Linked DNA regions of Homo sapiens: regions 2 and 3 are each linked to region 1. The links are contacts of gene promoters, found by promoter capture Hi-C in blood cells and fetal thymus (Javierre and others, 2016). All regions are on one chromosome and are shown on one strand. The core of a region is centred on a gene start or on the middle of the fragment in contact, and the rest is flanking DNA. Distances in the headings are between cores, read along the strand shown. Region 1 holds the start of SLC37A4 (solute carrier family 37 member 4). Region 2 overlaps LOC105369519 (a long non-coding RNA gene). Region 3 holds the start of MCAM (melanoma cell adhesion molecule).

Region 1 (3,542 bases), core at 1,043-3,542:
CCAGGATATTGGAAGACCAAGGCAGGTGGATCCCTTGAGCTCAGGATTTCGAGGCCAGCCTGGCCAATATGGTGAAACTCTTGTCTCTACAAAAAATAGAAAAATTAACCGGGTTGGCTGGGTGCAGTTGTTCATGCCTGTAATCCCAGCACTTTGGGAGGCCAAGGGGGGCAGATCACCTGAAGTCAGGAGTTTGAGACCAGCCTGACCAACATGGAGAAACCCTACCCCTACTAAAATTACAAAATTAGCTGGGCATGGTGGGGCATGCCTGTAATCCCAGCTACTCGGGAGGCTGAGGCAGGAGAATCGCTTGAACCCCAGAGAAGGAGGTTGCAGTGAGCTGAGATCACTCCACTTCCAAAACAAAACGATAGGGCTGTTAATTTAGGTGGTGGTTACACGGGTATTAACATGTGTAAAAAATCACTGAGTTGTACATGTAAGATTCCTGCACTTTTTGTATTTTATTATGTGTATGTTAAATCTTAAAAATAAAAGCGGAGAAAAACCTGATGGCTTCCTACTCCTCTATTAGGTAAAGTAAGAATCTGCTCTGGTTTGGTTTCGGAGGAACTGTTTCCTGGTCCTTGGATCTACCTGGCTGAAAGCACAGTGCCTGGTACAAACTAGGCTCCTCCCCGATTTTGAATTAACGAAGTTCAGTGACATCGTCATCCTATTTTTTTTTTTTTTTTTTTGAGACAGGCTCTCGCTCTGTCACCCAGGCTGGAGTGCAGTGGCACGATCTCGGCTCACTGCAACCTCTGCTTCCCAGGTCCAAGAAATTCTCCTGCCTCAGCCTCCCCAGTAACTGGGATTACAGGCGTGTGCCACCAAGCCTGGCTAATTTTGGTATTTTTAGTAGAGACAGGGTTTCACCATGTTGGCCAGGCTGGTCTCGAACTCCTGACTTCAAGTGATCTGCCCGCCTTGGCCTCCCAATGTGCTGGGATTACAAGCATGAGCCATCGCGTCCGGCCTGTCATCCTATTTTATCTCATCTCCTCCTCCTCCCTTCCCTGACCATCTTCTCTGGAGTAAAAGATCTTTGCTCTCAATTTTGGAACACTTACAATTCCTTCAGCCACTCTTGTTAGGAAGATATAAGGGAAGAGAGCGAGAGACAGGAGGCAACTCAACGGCCAAACAGGTTTATTCACAGGAATAAGCCTGCAAGGAGTTCCAGTCAGGAGTCTGGCTGAGACCCTGATCGCTTACAAGCTGAGGCTTTTATAATATCGTTTCTATTGGGGAGAGGTCGGGAAGTGCTGGCTGATTGGGACTGTTGGGGACTTTGTTAGGCTATGTTACCTTCTGTTGAAGCTATGGGCAGGGTTAACATTTGCTCTGTTTCTGAGAACACAGTCATCATTGTTGTAAAATAGCATCACTACTGTTACTCCTCACAACTCTTAACTGGGATCAGTGAAAACCATTGTTGTTGAGAACTCTTATAGAATTTCTGAGCTCTTATCTAAATCATCTGTTGAGTCTTCACAATGATCTACCAGGCTGGTAGGAAACGGGAGCTCATAGAGATTAACCAAGGTCATACAGTTAGAATGCTGTGGGTCTAGGACTAGAATTTGATATTTACTCCAGGCCCCGTCTCTGTCCCCAACAATCTAACCACAAGTTAAAATTCCAAATTGTGGGCTGGGCGCGGTGGCTCACGCCTGTAATCCCAGCACTTTGGGAGGCCGAGGTGAGCGGATCACGAGGTCAGGAGATCGAGACCATCCTGGCAAACACGGTGAAACCCCGTCTCTACTAAAAATACAAAAAATTACCCGGGCGTGGTGGTGGGCGCCCGTAGTCCCAGCTACTCGGGAGGCTGAGGCAGGAGAATGGTGTGAACCCGGGAGGAGGAGCTTGCAGTGAGCCGAAATCGCGCCACTGCACTCCAGCCTGGGCGACTGAGCGAGACTGTTTCAAAAAAAAAAAAAAAGAAAAAAAGAAAATACTGTGTGTTCCTACAACACCTTTCCCAGACTGTGAGCAACTTGGGAACAATGATTATCACCTTAGTGTTCGGTGTGTTTTGTAGAGGAGGGCACTCACTAAAAACTGGTTTGTTGAATGCAACCACTTAAGAATTGGACATGCCGTGCCCAGCCCCTAAGGGGCGCTATGCTCGTTCGTCCAAGGAGCAGCGTGACCAGCGGGAGGGAGTAAGTCGACGTCCCCGGCATGTGGGGCGGGGAACTCCACTGGCCGGCAAGCGAAGCAGCAGGCGAAGACCACGCCCCCGCCGGCCGCGCTTGCGCAGCCTTCGCTAGCCCCGCCCCGTCCTATTCGGGCTCCCGCCTCTGTTCAGGTAGGAGGCGGTATGCGGGGGAGGGGAGTCACCTGAGGGCGGGGATCTCAGGTCTTGGGGAGCCATTGTTGGCGAACCCCAACTTCCGATACGACCCGGAGCTGTTCCTGCAGTTCCAGAGACAATTCATGGGTCTTGGGGCCACCGAGGCGCTGTCCCTGACCACCAGCACGAGACCCCTTTCTATCGCGCCAGTCCTGTGGTCTCCGCACCTCTCCAGCTCCTGCACCCCCGGCCCCCGTGGTTCCCAGCCGCACAGTAGCGTGTCCTGGGTAGCGTGAGGACCCACGGGGCTGGGCAGGTGCCACGAGCCCGCCGCCTCTTCGCCGCCCGCCGCCTCTCCTCCTCTCCCGCCCGCCGCCTGGCCCTCCCCTACCAGGCTGAGCCTCTGGGTGCCAGAAGCGCGGGGCCTCCGGGAGAATACGTGCGGTCGCCCGCTCCGCGTGCGCCTACGCCTTCTGCTCCAGTTGCTTTCCCAATTGAGCGGAAAAGCCGGGGCATGTTGCCGGGGCCCTGGGCGGGACGGTTGTGCCCTGCAGCCCGAAGCCCGCCGGGGCACCTTCCCGCCCACGAGCTGCCCAGTCCCTCTGCTTGCGGCCCCTGCCAACGTCCCACAGGTTGGAAACCAGACCCTGCAGCCCCCAGCTAGCCCGAAGGAAGCCCAGACTGACGTCGCAGGGTAATGGGGACCCAGAGGTAGCTCTGTGGGGCCCCATCAGGACCTCAGCCCTTAGCGGGGCTTTCTGTGTGACACCGTGGGACCTGAACTGGGGAGGTCCCCCTTGCACAGAATTACAAGGGGCAACTGTAGGAAACAATTAAATCTATTATGTGCTAAGTATTGAGAGTTCCACGGATTGAGGCCCTCTCTAGAAGGCTTAGAAGTGGGGTAGCCGGGGTATGTGTCTGACTTTGTGTTTTGGTGCGGTGGTGGTGAGTGGGTGTAGAAACTAATAGTGCCAAGTGCAGTGCCTGTCAACTAGTAAGTTAATAAACCTTCCGTGAATGAATGAGAAGGTTCTGTGACTGAGGGAGCAGGGCTAGAGAGGGCATCTCTGCTCATCCCACCCCTGCCTCCCCTGGGCTCAGGCAGACAAAAGTAATTAGGTTGAACCTTTAATCAAAGCTGGTTTCACAGGCAAGCAGACATGATAGAGGAGGTAAAGGCAGAAATCCTGGGGACACAGGGTGCTGGCCTGGCTCACAGGCATGCCTCCTTCCG
Region 2 (3,542 bases), core at 1,043-3,542, 330 kb after region 1:
TACACAATGAGATTCTGTTTGGGACACTTCAGTGACCTTTTTGTCTGCCCGCTTACCCCATCAGAATTTACATACATTCTGGGTTCATACAAACAAAATAACGGCTCAGAGGAGACGTGAGCTGTGCTCCGTGACAGTGGCAAGGCTGCAGCCTTGGCCACAATGAGAGCTCTCGCTCTCTGGGCTTCACCCATAATAAGGACACGTGAATGGGTGGGATGACAGACAGGAAACACTTCCCCAGCTTCCACCGGGGCAGGGCATGCAACCACAGCAACCACAGGGCATGGGGCGATTATTTGACTTCCAAGTCCAAATTAGAACATCACAACCAGCTGGGCGTGGTGGCTCAACGCCTGTAATTCCAGCACTTTGGGAGGCCAAGGCGGGTGGATCACCTGAGGTCAGGAGTTCGAGACCAGCCTGGCAAACATGGTGAAACCTCGTCTCTACTAAAGATACAAAAATTAGCCAGGCATGGTGGCGGGCACCTGTCCCAGCTACTCAGGAGGCTGAGGCAGGAGAATCGCTTGAACCTGGGAGGCAGAGGTTGTGGTGAGCCAAGATTGTGCCACTGCACTCCCAGCCTGGGTGACAGAGACTCTGTCTCAAAAACAAAAACAAAAAAATCACAACCACCATTAACCACTACCTCGAAACTCTGTGGCTTCACATCGTGGAGTGGGAGTTGTCCTCAGCTCCTCATGCCAGGGGTAAAGATTCTTCATTATTCAAAAAAGGTGCCATCTGATTTGCTTCAGAAGTCTAACATTTTGTGAACCCTTTGACACTGCCGTTCCAGGTTCAGGAGTCTGTTGTAAGGAAATAATACTACAGTGCATAAAGACATGAGTACTCAGGCGTTCATTCTCCCCAGCGCTGTCTGTAAGAAAAAAAGGAATAAACTAAAATGTTTATGTTTATTCAGTGCTTAGTGATAAATAATTAAATAAATGTTGACACATCCACATAGTAGAATGCTGTGAGGCCATTAACATTAGAAGGTGGTAGAAAACATAATAACAGCCGTGCACGGTGGCTCGTGCCTGTAAATCCCAGCACTTTGGGAGGCCTAGGCGGGCAGTATCACCTGCAGGTCAGGAGTTCAAGACCAGCCTGGCCAACGTGGCGAAACCCCATCTCTATTAAAAATACAAAAATTAGCCAGGTGTGGTGGTACATGCCTGTAGTCCCAGCTACTCAGGAGGCTGAGGCAGGAGAATCACTTGAACCTGGGAGGCAGAGGTTGCAGTGAGCCAGGATGGGGCCACGGCACTCCAGCCTGGGCCAGCAAAGTGAGACTCCATCTGAAAAAAAAAAAAAAAAAAAAAAACCAAGAAAAGAAAAGATACTGACATGGAAAGGTAAACATGGTATGAATAGACCCAGGGATGGGCCCTGTGGTCCCACTCCCTGGTGTTCACACCCTGTGTAACCTCCTCCCCTGGAGCGCCGGTAGGACCTGCAACTTACTTCCAGCTAATAGACTGTGAAAAAGGTGAGGGGGTTTTGCAGACATAATTAGGGTCCTAAGTCAGTTGATTTTGAAGTCAAGGGGGCATTTTCATGGGTGGGCCTGACTAAATCAGGTGGAAGTCTTTGAAAGAGTGTCTGGGCCCTCTCAGAGGGTCAGAGACTCTCCGTCTATTACTGGCTTTGAAGAAGTAAGCTTCTCTGTGGTGACAGGGCCACTCAACAAGGAACTACTGTAGTCTCTAGTTGCTAAGGGCCATCCCTGGCTGACAGCCAACAAGAAAACATGAACCCCAGTTCTAGTCTTACAACCATAAGGAGAAGAATTCTGCCAACAGTCTGAGGGAGCTTGGGGGCCAATATTAAGCCTTAGATGAGACCAGCTGAGCCTCAGATGAGACCATAGCCCCAGCCAGCACCCGGACAGCAGCCTGGTAAAGCTCTGAAGCGGAGAACCTAGGTGAGCTGGGCCCAAATTTCTGCCCTCAGAAAAAGATGTGTGTTGTTTTAAGTTCCTTATCATGTGAAAAACAAAGAGCAGGTTATGAAATAATGTGTAGCAAAATCCCATTTTTGACTTGGAAAATGGGATCTTGACACATACTTAGGAAAAAACCTGAAACAAATACCAAAACACAGATGTTATATAAGGACTACAAAGGTATTATAAAATAGGATTAGAAAGTCTAGATACTTCAGGAATTAAAAGCATAAGAAAAGAGTAAAATACTATGACTAGGTACCATGGTTTGAATGTTGTCCTCTCTGCAATTTACATTGAAACTTCATCCCCACTGTGTCAGTGTTTTTTTTTATTTATTTATTTTATTTATTTATTTTTTGAGATGGAGTATTGCTCTGTCGCCAGGCTGGAGTGCAGTGGCGAGATCTCGGCTCACCACAACCTCTGCCTCCTGGGCTCAAGTGCTTCTCCTGCCTCAGCCTCTCCAGTAGCTGGGACTACAGGCGCATGCCACCACACCGGGCTAATTTTTTGTATTTTTAGTAGAGACGTGTTTTCACCATGTTAGCCAGGATGGTCTGGATCTCCTGACCTCATGATCCGCCCGCCGCGGCCTCCCAAAGTGCTGGGATTACAAGCATGAGCCACTGCACCAGGCCTAATTTAATTAATTTTCAAGTAAACTAATTAAGTGAAGATACAAAGTTGCAGAGAAAGAACATCTAGATTAGGCTGAGGCTGGGCACCTAACAGTTAATACCCTTTCATTTGTAATTGACATAGAAATATATTTAAATTGGCTTAAACAACAAGAAGCAGTTACTGCTCGTGTTACTGAAAATGAATGTGGTTGAATTCAGGTGGGAAACGATGCAGCTTTCAACCAGGCTTCAGGATCTGCTCCCTTTAAATCTCAGCTCTGCTCTTCTCCATGCTAGCTTCATTCCCAGGCTCTTTCTCTAACTAAAATGTAAGCTTAGGCCAGGCATGGTGGCTCATGCGGGAGGATCGCTTGAAGTCAGGAGTTCAAAACCAGCCTGGGAAACATAGTGAGACCCTGTCGCTATAAAATAAAATGTAAATGTATTGCTATTTTTATTTTATTTTTTTAATATGGAACACTTCATGAATTTGCACATCATCTTTGTGCTGGGGCCGTGCTAATCTTCTCTGTATTGTTCCAGTTTTAGCATATGTGCTGTGAACCAAGCACTGTGAATGTAAATAAAATAAAATAAAATATCACTATCATGAGGATAGTGACTTTCTCTTTTTTGTTCACTATTTAATCCCCAACACTTAAAATCGTATTTTTATTACTGCACATCATAAGCACCAAAAAAATTTCCAGGAAAAAAAGGAGGGGGCCAGGAGTGGTGGCTTATCCCTATAATCTCAACACTTTGGGCAGGAGGAGCTCTTGAGCCCAGGAGTTCAAGACCGCCCTGGGCAACAAAGTGAGACACTGCCTCTACAAAAATAAAAATTAAAAAAGAAAGAAAAGAGGAAAAGAAGGCGGAGGTATAGCAGCACAACAATTCTGGAGCAGAATAAATAAGACTATGTTAAATACATTTTAGAGAAACCGAATAACACTGAAGACAAA
Region 3 (3,542 bases), core at 632-3,131, 290 kb before region 1:
TCCGAGCAGCCTAGACAGCCCCAGGCTACTGGCTTCCTTAAAGGACAGTCTTCTGTGCTTGTTTGGTGGGGCAATGCGAAGGGACGTCACCCTGGGCTCTAGGCTCTGACCTCATTTCCCTTTCACCGCAGAGACAAATCCTCCACCCCCACCTGGCTTCACTCTCCTCCAGCGGAAGAAGAATTCAGAACTGACTGTCCTTGGTGGTTAGCTGGCTTTGTTTTCAGGCCAGAGAGGCGAATGATTAGTTAATGGTGTTAAGTGAAGGAAGGGGGTTGGGCAGGGAAGCCAGCTCCATGCCCAGCCGGGCCTGCCAGGGCAAACGGCATCCTTCAGCCATTCCCACTCCAGCCCAGCAGACAAAACATTCTCATCTAGTCAGCTCTGGGCCTGGGGCCAGTCCATACATTCACTCTGGAGGGCGAGCCAGCGTCCTCCTCTTGTTCTCCCTGCAGGCTCCAGGCTCCAGGCCCCTGGCCCGGTGGGCCTGGGCTCTGCACAGCCTCTGGCTGGAGACTAATGGCATTGGAGGAGGGGTCGAGAAGGCTCTGAAAGACAAGCCTGGTGTGGTTTTCCAGTCATCTCTGCGTCATCAAAACGCCACCCCGGAGCATGCTCTCAAGTCACCTGGCCATCTCCAGGGTTTGCTGGCTCACCCTCCACCTCCCCCAGCGAGCAAAGGGGTGGCCCCGCTGGGCAACAGACCTCTACCCAAATCCAGGCCCCTATTTGGCACTCCCTGGTGGAGGCGCGCCAGCAGATGTGGACCCCTTTTCTGAGGCCAGGCTGCTGGGGTCAGAGTGAGGCAAGAGCACCTCCCCCTCCCTAGAGCCTTAGTTCAAGAGGCCAGAAGACCCAGGGAGAAGCCGGCGTTTTGGGAGAAGGGGAGCTGCAGAGCTCCCCACCCAAGCAGGTCTGATTTGATTCTTCCCTCAGCTATGGACCCACAATCAATAGGGCTGGGGAAGACATGGGGTGGGGGAAGATCAGCGCTGCCGGGATCCTTTCAATCATCAGGAACAGCAACAGGTTTGCAGGGTCAGGCTGGGGACCCTCGCCCATTAACTCTTTCTTCTCCCTGTTTCTTTCTCTTAGGTGAGGGGAAACTGAGTTCCAGGGTAGGCTCCAGAGTGAAGAGGGAAGAAACATGATTCTCAAGGCCCAGGTCTGGACAAGTGTGAACACCTTGGGCCTGCGAATTCAGCCCCCTCCTTCCTTTCTCTGGTCAAAGGCTAGACTTGCAGGAGCTTGCGTTTGAAGGGACAGCCCAGAAGGCATCGTCTGCACTCCCCATACAGGTACTTCTGGGTCTGTGGGACTGGCGCAGGGTTCTTCTCCCAAAGCTGCCAGCACTGAGGCTGAGGCAGTGTCAGGCCGGCGGCAGCGGCAGTGGTGCAATCGTTCTGGGAAGCGATAGAGGCCGGCCTGAATTCTCTGTGGCAAGGGAGGGGAGCCCAAGTGGGAGGCCCCTTGGGGACACCGAGGACCAGGTCCGCTACTGCTCCTCCCCCAGGAGGTCCCCTAGGGGCTACATTGGCTGGCAGGGGCTGAGCAGCGGTGAGCCTGGCTGGCTTCGACCCGGGGCGACTCCGGGCATCCGGGACAGCTTCTCCTCGCTGCCACCTCGGCCAGTCAGACCCCGAGACACCTGTCACTACCCCCTCAGCCTTCCCAAGCCAGGAGCCTGGGAGTCCGGCTCTGGCCTACCTCCGGCAGCGCTCCTAGGCGCAGCTCCCGGGCTGGCGGCGCCGGGGCCCGCCCCCTAGGGCTGCGGCGCGCGGGGCGGGGGCTGGGGGCTGCGCGGGGCGGGGCGGGCCCGGGCGCTCCGGGCCCCCTCCCCCGCCCCCCTGACGTCAGCCCCCGGCAGCCTCGAGCTGCTCACTTGGCTCTCGCCCTCCGGCCGGGAAGCATGGGGCTTCCCAGGCTGGTCTGCGCCTTCTTGCTCGCCGCCTGCTGCTGCTGTCCTCGCGTCGCGGGTGAGTTCGCTCGCAGGGGGGCCGCGCCCCGGCTAGGGGTCTGCGGTGGAGCGTGCCAGGGAGCAGAGCCAGCGGCGCGGCGGGGTCGGGGCGTTGCGTCTGGGAGGACGAGCCTCCTCCCTGGGTCCCCGATCCCCGGGCGCCTTGCGCGCGAGCAACTCTTCTTTGCAGCCAGTTTGCAGCCGGGATTCTAGAGTATCCCGGGAGCAGCACTCGGAAGGCGGGGAGGAGGCTGCTTCTGGGAACGAGAAGGGGTGGAGCTCAGCCTTTCGGGGTGCTGGGGGGTGGGTGGTCCCTGAGGTGCTCACTCTGGGGGCCCGCAATTGAAGCCGGGCAGGAGGCGCAGCTGGGGCGCATCCTCAAAGCCTGAATTCCGCGCCCGCCTGTTGCTGGAAAAGGCAGCTTCCTTCGCTGGAGGGGGTGCGCCGACCCACCCCTTCCCCCTTCTGCCTGGGCATCACGCCAGGCTGGAGGTGAGCGAGAGCGGGAGGTTCGGCGGCTCCCGCCCGAGCTGGGCGTTGGCAGGGGTTGCGGGGCGGTGTGGGTCGCCTCGCGCCTCCCCGAGTGATGGGATCATAGGGGACAGAGATGAGGGATGGAGGATTCCCATACTGGAAGCGCCCGCTGGCTTATTTTGGGGACCACATTCAGGTGGGAAGTGCGCCCGGGCACCTCGGAGCGTTTCTCCGGATCCGCCTGGTAGCAGGGCGCTCTCGGGTCCACGCTGCCCTTGTATGGCCCGCAGCGGTGTCGCGTGTTTCTCTTGGCTCCCATTCCGCCGTCCCAGCCGCTGTCCGGCTGGGGAAGGGGAGGGCTAGGCAATACCCAGCTCGCTGGCCTCATGCCCAGTGCCAACCATGTCCCTGGGGTATTCCAGGCTACTGCCTCCCAGGCTGACTTTATTTCTGGGGAAAGGGCTAAATCGGGCTCCACAGTTGCAGCCGGTCCAGCTCCACCCTGCCCTGCTCTTCTAGCTCTGGGAGGAGTCAGGGGTCTGAGGCTCTGGGTTGGAGACCCCACCTTCCACCTGCCCTCCTTGTCCGAGAGCCAAGGTAACAACCCAGGCATCCCAGAGCCCAGGCAGATGGTGTCGAGTGACATCACCTCCTCACAGGGCTGGCAGCACGCTGGCACCACTGACGTCACTCCTGCCCACTGCCTGGCCCTTGCCCTGACCCCTGGGGGAGACTCTGACCTCTCCATCCTTACCAGCTACCTAGGGTGGGGTCCGCGGGTGTGTGCGGAGTGTTCATGGAGGTGCTGCTGAGGGAGCATGAGACCGGAACTTCCGCCAGAGTTAGCCCGCTGGGGAGTGAGGGCAGGGATTTTGGAGGGCAGAGGATAGAGCAGTGGTGTCTTCCCCTGGCGGTGGTGACACAAAAGGGCCTGTGTGCCCCAGCCTGGCACATGCTTTGCATTCCCACACTCTGAGCTCACCCGGAGAGGAGGGGGCCTGGAAGGAAAGGGGCCTTCCTCTTGGCCCCGAGCCTAGGTTGCCCCTTTCTGCCCCTCTACCAGCCTCAGCTGGAGCTGTTCGGTGCTCAGTCTCTGCTCAATCTCTGCTTG

What was found. Contacts are between HindIII fragments. The CHiCAGO score rates a contact against its expected background, and 5 or more counts as called.
Region 2: a contact is called between a fragment that was not itself captured here and the fragment with the promoter of SLC37A4 in region 1, in 1 of 17 cell types (M1 macrophages). The highest score is 5.7, in M1 macrophages.
Region 3: the fragment with the promoter of MCAM here is called in contact with the fragment with the promoter of SLC37A4 in region 1 in 1 of 17 cell types (neutrophils); the score reaches 7.0 in neutrophils.

The regions. Positions count from the first base shown.
Region 1 is chr11:119,029,627-119,033,168 of GRCh38, reverse strand. It overlaps SLC37A4 (solute carrier family 37 member 4), which reads left to right and starts at 2,292. Exons shown (of 10, transcript NM_001467.6): 1 at 2,292-2,320. RefSeq lists a silencer at 2,678-2,837. The HindIII fragment of the contact is 18,338 bases long and covers 1-3,542 here.
Region 2 is chr11:118,701,949-118,705,490 of GRCh38, reverse strand. It overlaps LOC105369519 (a long non-coding RNA gene), which reads right to left. Exons shown (of 4, transcript XR_007062909.1): 3 at 653-883. It also overlaps the pseudogene RNU6-376P. Among named protein-coding and RNA genes, the nearest start is that of TREH, 24 kb to the right of the region's middle. RefSeq lists an enhancer at 276-777. The HindIII fragment of the contact is 1,242 bases long and covers 1,672-2,913 here.
Region 3 is chr11:119,315,469-119,319,010 of GRCh38, reverse strand. It overlaps MCAM (melanoma cell adhesion molecule), which reads left to right and starts at 1,881. Exons shown (of 16, transcript NM_006500.3): 1 at 1,881-1,976. The coding sequence starts at 1,910. RefSeq lists enhancers at 252-301, 3,195-3,542 and a silencer at 1,543-1,602. The HindIII fragment of the contact is 17,882 bases long and covers 1-3,542 here.